2 separate regions of the Homo sapiens genome follow, and region 1 is linked to region 2. Evidence: promoter capture Hi-C in human tissues and cell types (Jung and others, 2019). All regions are on one chromosome and are shown on one strand. The core of a region is centred on a gene start or on the middle of the fragment in contact, and the rest is flanking DNA. Distances in the headings are between cores, read along the strand shown. Region 1 overlaps LDB2 (LIM domain binding 2). Region 2 holds the start of LDB2 (LIM domain binding 2).

Region 1 (6,374 bases), core at 1,200-3,699, 52 kb before region 2:
CTCTAGCCTGGGAGACAGAGACACACCCTGTCTCCAAAAAAAAAAAAAAAAAAAAAAAAAAGGATCTATCAATGGTGAGTCACCAAGCAACAGCTGTAGAAGTAAAAACTAAATACCTCACTTCTCCTCCCACTTCCCTGGGTGCCTCATTTCAAATTCCTTGGCCAATGACCTCCCTTTACTAAAGCTTTATTTACATTTCTGCAGTTGCACATCTGGAAAAGGAACTTCTAAACTTTATTTCACAAGAACACTTGGGGCTCTCTCATATCCCTTTTTATGGTAAAGATATTAAGGATTTGTCTGTTATTTTTCTCTTAAGACTTTTTTTTCTAATTCTGCTTTTTGATGGGGTAACTGGGATACATCCTTAAAGCACAAAGTGTTTTAATGTTAAGAAATCAAATTGATTGACTCTGCATTTACAAGAACAATCCCCATGTCTTCTCTCATCTTGTTTCGTTTGTTTTGTTTTTGTTTTTTTGTCCATGACTTTTTAAGACATTGGTTTCGAGTGCTACTTCCCTGATCTTATTGTTGATTTTCCTCACAACATTAGCACATTTTGCAGAAGCCCTGAAAACATTGCTTTTCCCTGACCTAACCCACCTAATGTTTTCTTCCACCTGCACTCATTTGATTTCAGGCTTGATACTGTATTAAACATTCAGAGCAAATGGATTGTGGTCTGTGGTTAAAAGGTACAAGAGGGAAAACTACATCATGTCACGTCTCTGCTAATGGTAGGTCAAGAGTAAACATCCATAAGCAGATGCAGCGGAATCTACTGCCCACTGGGGGAAAGTTCACTCTGGCTCTTTAAGAGTCAACAGCTTAGACTCATGCAGTGCATGTTTCAGCCCAGTCCCAGATTAGAGATGTGGGGTCTCAATTTCACTGTATTAAAGCTAGCAGGTGGAGGCTGCACAAGGTCAGTGGCCTTTGTTCTGTGGTCCCTGAAGCTCTAGAGGGCTTTCCAGGGGAGAAGTGGAATGCAAGAGTGTAAGCAGATCCCCTGCTCCCAAATTTATACATTAAGCCTCCTTATTAAAGAGCCGTTTTGGTAACTGCAATCACAACTGCAATGCATGTCATCGAGATCTCCTCTCAGCTCTTTCTGTGACTATCCCATGGCCGCCCCTGTTTCCTTTGAGCACTGGTGGGTGTTTTAGCTCTCTCAGTAACAGCTTTTTCTATCAAAGAAACCCAGATGGCAATAGGCAAAGCTTACTTTTCTCTCTTGCCTTCCTACGGCAGGCACAAAGACCTGACACATGTTAAGTGTTCCATAAATGTTTGTTATGGTTGCTAATACTATTTATCATATGGGCTACTACAAAATACATGATTCCCTATTATCCCAACATCTACTGTTTCTTGCAGCAACATCCTATGACAGCAACAGTGACAGGAATAAGACCAGAAGCAATACTAATCGCATAGGACTTATGAAATACCTACCATGGGTAGGTCCTCTACTAGCTGGTTTATGTGTACTATCTCATTCAACCCCTTAATTTTCAAGTACTACTAGTCCTAATTTATGGGGATATTAATTAGGAAATGGTGCAAGAGAAGTCAAATAGTTTGCCCAAAAGAAATGAGCTAATAAGCCTGGGCGCGGTGGCTCCTGCCTGTAATCCCAGCAGTTTGGGAGGCCGAGGTGGGTGGATCACCTGAGGTCAGGAGTTCAAGACCAGCCTGGCCAACATGGAGAAACCCCATCTCTACCAAAAATACAAAAAATTAGCCAGGCGTGGCAGCATGCGCCTGTAGTCCCAGCTACTCAGGAGGCTGAGGCAGGAGGATGGGATGGGGTGAACCCGGGAGGCAGAGCTTGCAGTGAGCTGAGATCACGCCACTGCACTCCAGCCTGGGCGACAGAGCAAGACTCTGTCTCAAAAAAAAAAAAAAAAAGTTAATAAGTAGCAAGGCTGGATTATAAGGTCTGGTTCATCTGATCTCAACTCTCAGACTTTTTCTATGCAATGCACTCCCTAAGACCTCCGCCCATTCTTAACATGTTTTTACATTGTCTAATACACTTGGTTTAACAGATAAGAAGCCTCAGCTGTAACATGTAAACCTATCAAGATGGCTAACAAAGCTTTAATAATTTCAAATACCAAATAGCCCAGTGAATCCAGGTTTTAAAAATAGAAAGCAAAGTACATTCTATCTTGTCTACCCCTGGTGCTGTTGGTAAGCAAAAGATCAAACTCTTTAGCAGAACAAGTTGCATTTTAACTTATTGGAAGTGAGTCTAAAAATTCTATCTATATATTTTTTATGGCCTGAATGCATGGAAATCAGACTTTTGAAGGATGTTTTGTTACCTTCTGTAGTAGTTTGAGAGAGTATTTCTAGAGCTATAAAAACACTGAATATGTAAATTTTGGAAACATTTATATGTTAAAAATACTGAAAAGCAACTACGGGTAAGCATTGCTAAAAGCAGGTAGGGGAGATGCCACATTTGCAGTCTGTAGACTCCCTAGAGCTCTCCATTAATTCTGTCATGTCATTTACATGAAAATGGGGCTCTCCTTTGTATTAAGATGCCAAAGCCAAATCACATGGACAATGCAAAAGAGCAGGCAAAGAGTGCTTTGTCACAAAAATATATAATTTATTTCAACAATTTCTGTGGATTTTTGATATCAAAGTCTCTTTATGACACTGACAGTCATCAAGCGGATGTTTGTCAAAGTACATTTCCCAGATGTCTAAATAAAACAGTTTTGCCTTGATGAGTTTTATACTGAGAGCTGGAGAAGACTCCACTCTATTTTAATTTCTCTCCTTTTTCAGTATGTGTCATTTCATTCTCTTTTCAATTTGACTCTCACCCCAAAATTTGAATAGTTGAGGTTCTAGTTAGTTGGACCCCAATTAATGAAAAATCCCCCGTAATTGTTTTTATGGCAAGATAAAAACATTTCTATATGTTGTAATAACATGTAGAAAAATATTTATGCTCACTAGTAAGCCACAAAATACAAATGAGACTATCAACACCAAATAATTTTTGACTCTCAAATCAGCATAATATTTTTTTTCATGATACCATTTAACAGGGACCAGAATGTGGTCAGAGGGTCACTTATATCCATACTAATGGAAAGGTCAATTACTCAATACTGTTGGAAACTCAGTGTTAACATTCTAGAGGAAGATTTTAGGAAATGTCCAAACTCTTATTTTGTGACACCTCCTCCTTAAGGATGTTACCCAAATTTTGAAAAAATTCTTACATCAAAGATGTTTACCATAGTGGTAAAAAATAACAATCGTTAGAAACACCTAAACCTCTTGCAATAACTTATCATCTTATTAAATGAAAGAAATACTTGGCAATCATTGGTAAAGGTTCTTTAACACATGTTTGTTTGTTTGTTTGTTTGTTTGTTTGTTTGTTTTTTGAGACGGAGTCTCGCTCTGTCGCCCAGGCTGGACTGCAGTGGCGGATCTCGGCTCATTGCAAGCTCCGCCTCCAGGGTTCACACCATTCTCCTGCCTCAGCCTCCCGAGTAGCTGGGGCTACAGGCGCCCGCCACAGTGCCCAGCTAATTTTTTGTATTTTTTGTAGAGACGGGGTTTTACCATGTTAACCAGGATGGTCTCAATTTCCTGACCTCGTGATCCACCCGCCTTGGCCTCCCAGAGTGCTGGGATTACAGGCGTGAGCCACCGCGCCCAGCCTAACACATTTTTTAAAGTAATATTTTTAAATCTCTGCTATAATGCAAATGAAAAAGCCAAATATAAATGTAAAATACATAGAGTCTTGTGAAAAAAATAAAATAAAAATAAGTACTGAGAAAAATAAGCCAAATACTTAACTGTCAGGGTCTTTGATGAATGCTGAAAGGTATTTATTTTTGAAATCCAGCTACTTGTCTCTGTTTTTCTTACACTCTACAGTAAGTATATATTATATTGAAAGTAGGGACAAAGTGAATTTTAAAAAGCAAAAAAGAACTATGTAAAGGGTCTTGGCAACAAGTCATTAATAAAGGCTTACTGTTCATTCTAAATTAAGGCTATGTAACATGGTTCTGTACACAGATGAAAAGCTCAATTTGGAGAAGTCCATGTATATACACTATAATCTAATTAATGGCATTTGTACCCAAACTAATTTGAAATTTTAATGTTTTAAAACAATGTCAAAAATCTTGAGTATTCACATATTTGGCACACATTTCTAAGAAGACAGCAGATGTATTCCATGGGTTTCCAGAGAAACATGAATGTACACATGAATAGAAGCTGCAGGAAGGCAGAGTCTAGTTAGCATGTGGAAGAATATTTGGCCTTCAGAGACATCCAACAATGGAGTGGGCAGCCTAAGGACATATTAACCCTCCTCAGCTTGAACAGGATTTTAGCAGAAGCTGCAGCGTCATACACTAAAACAAAAGAAATAACCTTCTCCCCATACTTTCTTTTAACTCCATCTAGGTAACCCCCATCTCAGTAAATAATAGCAATATCCACATACTTGCTGAAGACAAATATTTTAATCTTCTGTTTCCTTTGTCAGCCATATCTGATATATCAGCAAACAACATCGCAAATCCATCCACTTTTCCCCATCCCCACGGCCACCATCCTGGCCCAAGTCAGAATCATGTCTCCTGTTGACCACTGAAAGAGCCTCCTCAATCATCCACACTCTTTCCAGTAATGCACTCTCTGCATGGCCGCCTGAAAGCTACATCTACTGATATATCTGATTAAAGCCTAAATCAAATCACACCACTCCCTTACTGGTAGTTCTTCAAAGATTTCTCAAAGCACTAAAATGAAATCCCAAATTGAAAATTGAAATTCCTTTCCCCGATCTACAAAGACCAAAAAATCTGGCCCCCACTATGCCTTCAATTTAATCCCAGGCCATTTGCTTCATCCATATTCATTTTTTTCCCTCTGTCTTTCTTTTGCTGTACTTGCCATTGGCTCCTGCCTGTTAGTTCTCTCCCAAGATGCTCACAGGGCTGGCTTCTTCTCAAAAATGTCTTTGTTTAAATATCACTTCCCCTGGGAGGACTTCTGTGACCACCCCAACTAAAGTAGCCCCAAACGTACTGTCTTTCATCTTCCTCTTTTGCTTCTTGCTATCATATTTCTTTTTCTTTTAAAAATTGATTTCTTCTAATGCAAGATCAAGGAGAAAAGGATCTTATTCATCGTGTCCATTGTTTCATTCAAAATGCCTGGCATCAAGCAATTGTTTAATTAATACCGATAGAATGAATGTCAGTTACACTTTATCATGACCACATTCCATGCAGCAAGAACCCAAAGGCAATGTCTAAAGGGCCTGGTGGCTCACTGAGGAGCCTTCTTAGAGAGTTGTGCTGCCTCCTTCAAATCCCTCTGGTCCAATTGATGTATTAACTCTTTGGGAGCCATTTAATACAGTGACACTTCATGGCATGACTGTTTCCTGTTTGTCAAAAAATAACACATTCTTTTAAGTGTAGCCATTGAAAAAATAGCTATCAAGAACACATGGGCATTTGCTCTTAATTCCCTCTTATCACTCTCTGGCCATTCCCTGGGTGGAGGGTTCTGCCCACTTCTGGAGGGTCAGCACCTTGAAGGCAGACACCAGCTCTTAGCCTTACACCTGGTCCCTCTTACATTTCATCTCTTCCAGCACACATGCTAGTCATCTGGTAGCCTTTTGCATACTGGTGAGTGATTTAAAAACAAAACTGTGAAAAGTAGGCATACTTTTAACAATCCCCAGGAAGGTGAAGCGCTTTCATCTTCAAAACTCCAACATATATTAATAAACTTTGCATCTATGCATTCAGGTATGTCAAAGAGGTGATATGCTATAAACATCTTTGGAGGGGAGGTGAATGCTGGCTTTGGGAGACTATGAAGGTAGCATTAGAAAGAGGGCCTCTGGAGCTCTTGTGTAAGGAGAAAGTCGGCGGCGCTTTCTGTGAGTCTGTTATGGGAGCCGCCAAAGAACTGCCAGTTTCCCTCCACATGGACACATCTAGCCAGAGAAAGCCTGGAATAAGGGAAATATCCCAGGCTTTGGATAGGGCCTGGACAAATTCTAGCCCCACCACCTATTAGCTGAACCTCCTTGAACAAGCCATTGAGCTTAGCTGAGGTTCAATTTCCCTTGCATGCAAAAAAAAAATTTGATGGTTATATCTACATTATAGAAATATTGAGAAGATTAAGTAAATTTATGCATGGAAAAGCTCCTGAAAGCCTTGGCACCCAGTAGATAGATATTTAATTTACATAAGCTTATTTCCTCCCTTTCCTGAGAACAGAGGAGAACACAAGGATGTCAGGTTTCCCACATTGTAGAAATTTGAACAGTCTAAGAATTAAAAAGTAAC
Region 2 (5,660 bases), core at 1,792-4,291:
AGGAGTGGGACCAGAAGAGAGAGAGGAAGAGAGAGATGGAAGAGGGATGGGTGAGTCAGTCTTGCCCAAAATGGTTGTATGCTTTGGCTAAATTCTCAAAGTAGTCACTCAAAGGCATATTTGATTTTGCATGTGAATAAACTAATAACTCTTGCTGAGTATCATTGTATTTTATCCCAACCAATCCCTCTCCAGAACTCAGAGCAGCTTTATCATAAATAACAATTATTGGTAAAGGTATAGTGTAACTTTACATGAAAATTGTTTTTTTCAAGGTACATACATCATGATCAAAATTTAATATTTGATGTAAATATTTAAATATCTTAGGAGCAATTATTTGATTCTCTCCCCTTTTCATATGAAATAAAAACAAATGTATGGCATTGCGTTCATGACAGTATTTACTGCTTAGCAAAGAAAAAAAGAAGTATTGAGGCAATTATTTGAATAATTATTTGAAAAATTATCTAATTAAGGAGGGAAAAATGTAAACGGTTAGCTCTAGGACACACCAGAAAACAGTTCATAGCACTTTACTGTTACAGGCAGGGAGGTTTAAAAAAATCTTTAAGATTTGTCATAGCAAGCTTTCTTCTCTTGGTTCTTGAGCTATGAAGTAGTCTTTTTCTACTCAGAGCTAAATCTTTAAAAGTAATACCCCATAATCCAAAAGTTAGGAATTCCTGAGTTTAGCTCTCACAAAAAATAATGTACCATCTTTGCAAAGCATACTGCGAAAGGAGGTCTTTTCAAATGTCTTGTCTCAAATGGGAAACAAACCTGGGACCATATTGAATCCTGCAGTTTTTTTTAATGAGGGCAAGAGTAGGGAAATCTTGCAGATAAGTCTCCTAGCTCAGACCTGGCCAAGTGCTCAGTAATGGGCAGGAGGGCAGGCAGATATCAGAGAAAGCTGCCTGTGTTCCTAACTGCAGGAGGATGGAGAAGAATCTCTGCAATTCCTCAAAAACTTTCTAAAATGTAAGGTGGACAGGTCATTTTTAAATATTGTTGCTGTTCAAGAATTGAGCCATAATGGTCCCTGGCCTCTTTTTTTATAACTAATCATACTTTTAAAAGACTATTTTTTCCAAATTTGTATTGCAATTAATGTGTGCCTGAACTATAAGACATTTTCTATCCTCCTAATTATGAAAGCAGCCTGTGTCAACCAATGGTTTATGCAGAGATTTAAGATTCCAACACACAGTTGCAAAGATCTGAAGGAAATATACAAACTGTTACACACACAAAGCAACATACACAAAACAGCAAGCACAAATATCAGTCACTGCCAACAGTTCACTATCCTAAGCAAAACATAGTTTGCACTTCTATAGAAGCTACTGGCTTCTAGAAAGAGCAAGAGTACCAGCAGTCATATTTAGCGTCTATGGTGTATTAACATATAAAGAAAACAGCAGTCATTAAAGACAACCCAGCTTTTAAAATACATATAAGTCCTTGTCCAGCAGTTAGCCAATCAGAAAGCAGGTCACATCTTGTTAGCTGTATTAAATACACGAAACGTCATGAATTCTCTATGGCTCTGTTGACAATTCAAGCCAACTGTGTTTTATCCCATAGCACAAACTTAATGGAGTCCCTTCCTAGAGTTAAAAGTCAATCTTCAATCTAAAATTCCACCAGAGCTATTCCCTAAAAGCTCTTTGGCATAAATCTTGTGGTATTTATACTCTGCAGAGAAGACTAAATTCCTAGCAATTTCCACTTCCTAAAGTGACTTTGGTGCACCTATAACAAACTCCTTTTCCGAACACTTCCACACAAAGCCCCAACTTACAGGCAGATGGACAATCCAGCAGCAAGACCTGCCAGCTGAGCTAGCACAGAGAAAAAGTCAACTGACATAAAATATTTAAATTGCAGGAGGCGAGTCTGGAGTTTTGCATTTAAAAAGTTCTGAAAGTCCTGTTCTCTCTGCTCCCAGAGTTGCTGGCTGCCTAGGAGGCTGAGTCTCCCTCTCTCAGGCACAAGATCTCAAATATGCAAAAACTAGAGCTGACTTGAAAGCTGAACCAGCTCCTGTCCTAAGGTAGAGTGATAGGGGGGCACGGCCGACAGCAATAGGAGAAAGTCTAGAGTCCCCTTGCCCCAAGCAACTGGTTTCTGATTTTAACACTGAAATATACAAACATGTGTCCCTCCAGGGCTAGTTCTGAGAAGTAGGCAGGTTTACTCTTCTGCCCCTTTTTACCTCGATTTTGGTGACTCTGAAAAGTAAATACAGGTCAAAGCAGACTTCCTCTAGGATTTGTAAAAAAGAAAATATATATATATATATATATATATATATATATATATATATATACACATATGTATATATATATATATATATATATATATACACATATGTATATATATATATAGCCAGATGCAAACAATCACAAAATTCCTTGGAATTATATCTCAAGAAACACCAACAGGACTGACTCAGAGCCTGTAAAACACCAGAGTTCTGGAAGAGCAACATTTCTGGAAACCCGGCATGTGAATCAAGTGCTGGGTTGTCTCAAGATTCCGGCAGAAACTGTCCTCTGCTACAAGAGTTGCTGTGCCTGGAAACCCAGCGTCCAAACTCGTGGATTCATCCTGGCGCTCATTTCCACGTACGTGGTAGTATCAAGTGGGACACTTCCCATAGAATTCAGCCAGAAACCCTAGGAAAAGCTCATGCATAGCTTAACAAAAATACACAAACACATCCCCAAGGTTGAAGTACTTACCTCTGTGCGAGACTGCAGTCTCTTGTTCATCTCATAGATTCGGTACTCTGGCTGTACCATGTATGGTGTATGCCTCCTATAAAATGGGCCGAAAGGAGAAGAATAGAAGGGGTCATGTGGTGTGCTGGACATCTTGCCTGCTTTTCGAAAATCAAGCTAAACAGAGTATCAGTAACGTCCATGCAGAGCACATGGGCTGTGTTCTTCCCAGTACAAAGTAGACGCACGCACACACGCTCACACACACACAGAGGCAGGCAGGCAGGCAGGCTGAACACGCTGGCTGGGAACTGCTGTCGGAGCCCTCTATAGCAGGAGAGGAGAGGGAGAGGAGAGGAGGGAGGGAAAGAGGGAGGGAGGGAGGGAGCACGGGAGAGGAGGGAGAGGGAGAGAGCAGGAGCTCCAGAGAGGGAGGGAGGTTGGTATGGAGGAAGGGAGGGAAGAAGGGAGGGAGGGAGGGAGGGAGGAGGGAGGGAGGGAGGGGGAGAGAGAGAGAGAGAGAGAGAGAGAGAGAGAGAGAGAGAGAGAGAGAGAGAGAGAGAGAGAGAGGAGCTGGATAGCTTTAGGCACCACTGCTTGTTTTTAAAGAAGCAGTTTGTGGAGAGGTCATTTCCTGTCCACATTGTAGACTAGTTCACAAATATAATTCTCCTCACAGTCTGACAAGAGGTCTAAGGTTTGGTTTTAATTTTTTTCCTCCAGCCAGGACCCTTCACAACCTGATTGCTAAGCTTGTTAGCATAGAGGTGGTCTAACCGCTACATGAGCCGCTCACCCCTGACAACCACACTGTTGTAATGTATCAGAAATGTTGATTACTACAAAATACAGAAACACGGGCACTGTGGTGCCCCGAATTGGGACCGGTGATTCACTCACATGCAGAGATTTATTTCAGCACTAATCTCCCTATGTAGTTTTGCTTTACTTGCTGTTGTTCCAAGGGCTGTTATATTCTTTGCCCTCCACTCCATCTCACTCCCATCTCTCCCCACTCACCCCTCTTCCCAGCCACCTCCCTCTTCTCCAAAGACTTCATTCAGGCCCTTAAGGTGCCTGGGCATTTTCAGGTAAAAACAGTCGTTCTGAATGTGGAAGGTATAAAATACACTTAAGGAGAGCAATGGTCTTTTTTCCCAGGAAGGAAAAACAAACAAACAAACAAACAAAAAACCCAAACAGACCTCCCAATAAGACAGGAAAAGCAAAGAAGGAGAAAACTGCCACAAAAATGACCACGGAAAATTTGGTTGAGAAGGAAATTGCAAATAATTGAATGGATCATCCCCAGATAACATGTCCAACTCTTATGGAGACAAAGTCTGTATTTTCCAAGATTGGTCAAGTAAACAAATATTTTCCCAACTGTGGTATATGATAACCATAAGAAATCCCAACAGCCCATGGAAGGGGAAAATCTCTATAGAGAATTAAACAATCTATAAAATAATCAAATTCTGCTAGAACCCACTATAACCAGAGATACGACACTTAAACAAAGCCCAGCCACACAAAATTTAAATGTATTGAGCTAACACCTAGGTAGGTCAGTGGTATTAAGGAAATAAAGCAAAGGACCACCAAAAAGCATAATGAATTCAAGACCTGAATGCAAATGCATGCAAATGAGACATTTCTTCTTTTTAATAAGCAGATTAATTAACTTTCTGCCCCAATCATGGCTTGGGTATCTCCAAGTCACTAGCCAACAGGGGATAGAGTATTGCTAATTCTGCAATTTACACTCTTAAAAATACTCAGACACAGAAAAGTGTATTGCTGTCTTGATCAGTCCTTCTTCATAATTGCATGAAATATTTGCTGAGTCCACCCCAAACTTCCAGCAGCGCAGCCTAACACACTAATGTCGCTTCCCAGGATGAGATTAGGGTAGGTATTACACTAAGGCTGCTTGGAACTTGCGCTAGGAGACCCCAAGGCAGGCGAGAATGCTTGGTTTCAGGTTTCATTACAAATCCGAAAGCTGGACCAAATTTGCTGCAAGGTTTGTCAAAACACACAACCTTCTAAAGACAGGATTTCAAACAATTTTGGCATGATTTACGTTTTGGTATGGCAGCCACTGCAAAACCTAATGGTTCCTTATGTTTAAACTCTCAAACTAAAGACATTCTGAAAGTTTAGTGTCTGCCTGAGTTTGTGTTAATGTGACCATTTCAGTGCAAGAATGAAAGTAACACCTAGGCAGGCCTGTGCAGGCCAATAGTAACAAAAAAAAATGAAACAGTTCAAAAATCCATTTAGGAAGGGAATCCCTCTCTGAATAAGGTTCTGGTTTGCTCTCATTTGTTTCTGCAGACCATTGCCAATTATAATTGGAAATATTTCTTGCCATTAATAGTGAAAGACTCTCATTTCAGAACTATCTGAAACTTGATAATGCTGATCCATATCCCTGATTCTCATCCCCGTTATTTCAGGAGTCTCCGAACTGGTCCCCCTGCCCACAGATTCACAGTCCTCTTCTAACTTGTGGTCTGTCCTTATTCAAATGAGAATGTGGATTTCAGATAAGTGAAAGCGATCATGTCCCATGTTTTCCCCCTCAGTGTTTCCCTGCTGCCAGAAGGAAAACGTGCAAGTTCCTTAGGAACATGGCATACAGGGCTCGGTAAGACCCGCACTTCTGTGCTGTCTCTTTCTCCCTCTGTCACATACACACACACACTCACACACACTCATTCATTTACTCATTTGTGTGTTCATTCATTTATTTATTTGCTATACTTGATCTTCCTAAACTTGCAATCTTTCTTATGCATGGCCACATTTGTACTTCTGGCCCTAGTTTACCTACAAACTGCTACTTATCCTTCTATTAAATTAAATTGTCTCCTCCATAAATCTTTTTAAATTACACATTCATTTGTTTATTTATTCAACAAATAT

The links. Contacts are between HindIII fragments. The study calls those that stand out against the background at their distance.
Region 1: a fragment that was not itself captured here is called in contact with the fragment with the promoter of LDB2 in region 2 in 2 of the 25 tissues and cell types used here (hippocampus and mesendoderm cells).

The regions. Positions count from the first base shown.
Region 1 is chr4:16,844,214-16,850,587 of GRCh38, forward strand. All of the region lies in intron 1 of LDB2 (LIM domain binding 2), which reads right to left. Among named protein-coding and RNA genes, the nearest start is that of LDB2, 51 kb to the right of the region's middle. The HindIII fragment of the contact is 3,486 bases long and covers 707-4,192 here.
Region 2 is chr4:16,895,604-16,901,263 of GRCh38, forward strand. LDB2 (LIM domain binding 2) reads right to left here and starts at 3,042. Exons shown (of 8, transcript NM_001290.5): 1 at 2,751-3,042. The coding sequence starts at 2,882. The HindIII fragment of the contact is 10,471 bases long and covers 1-5,660 here.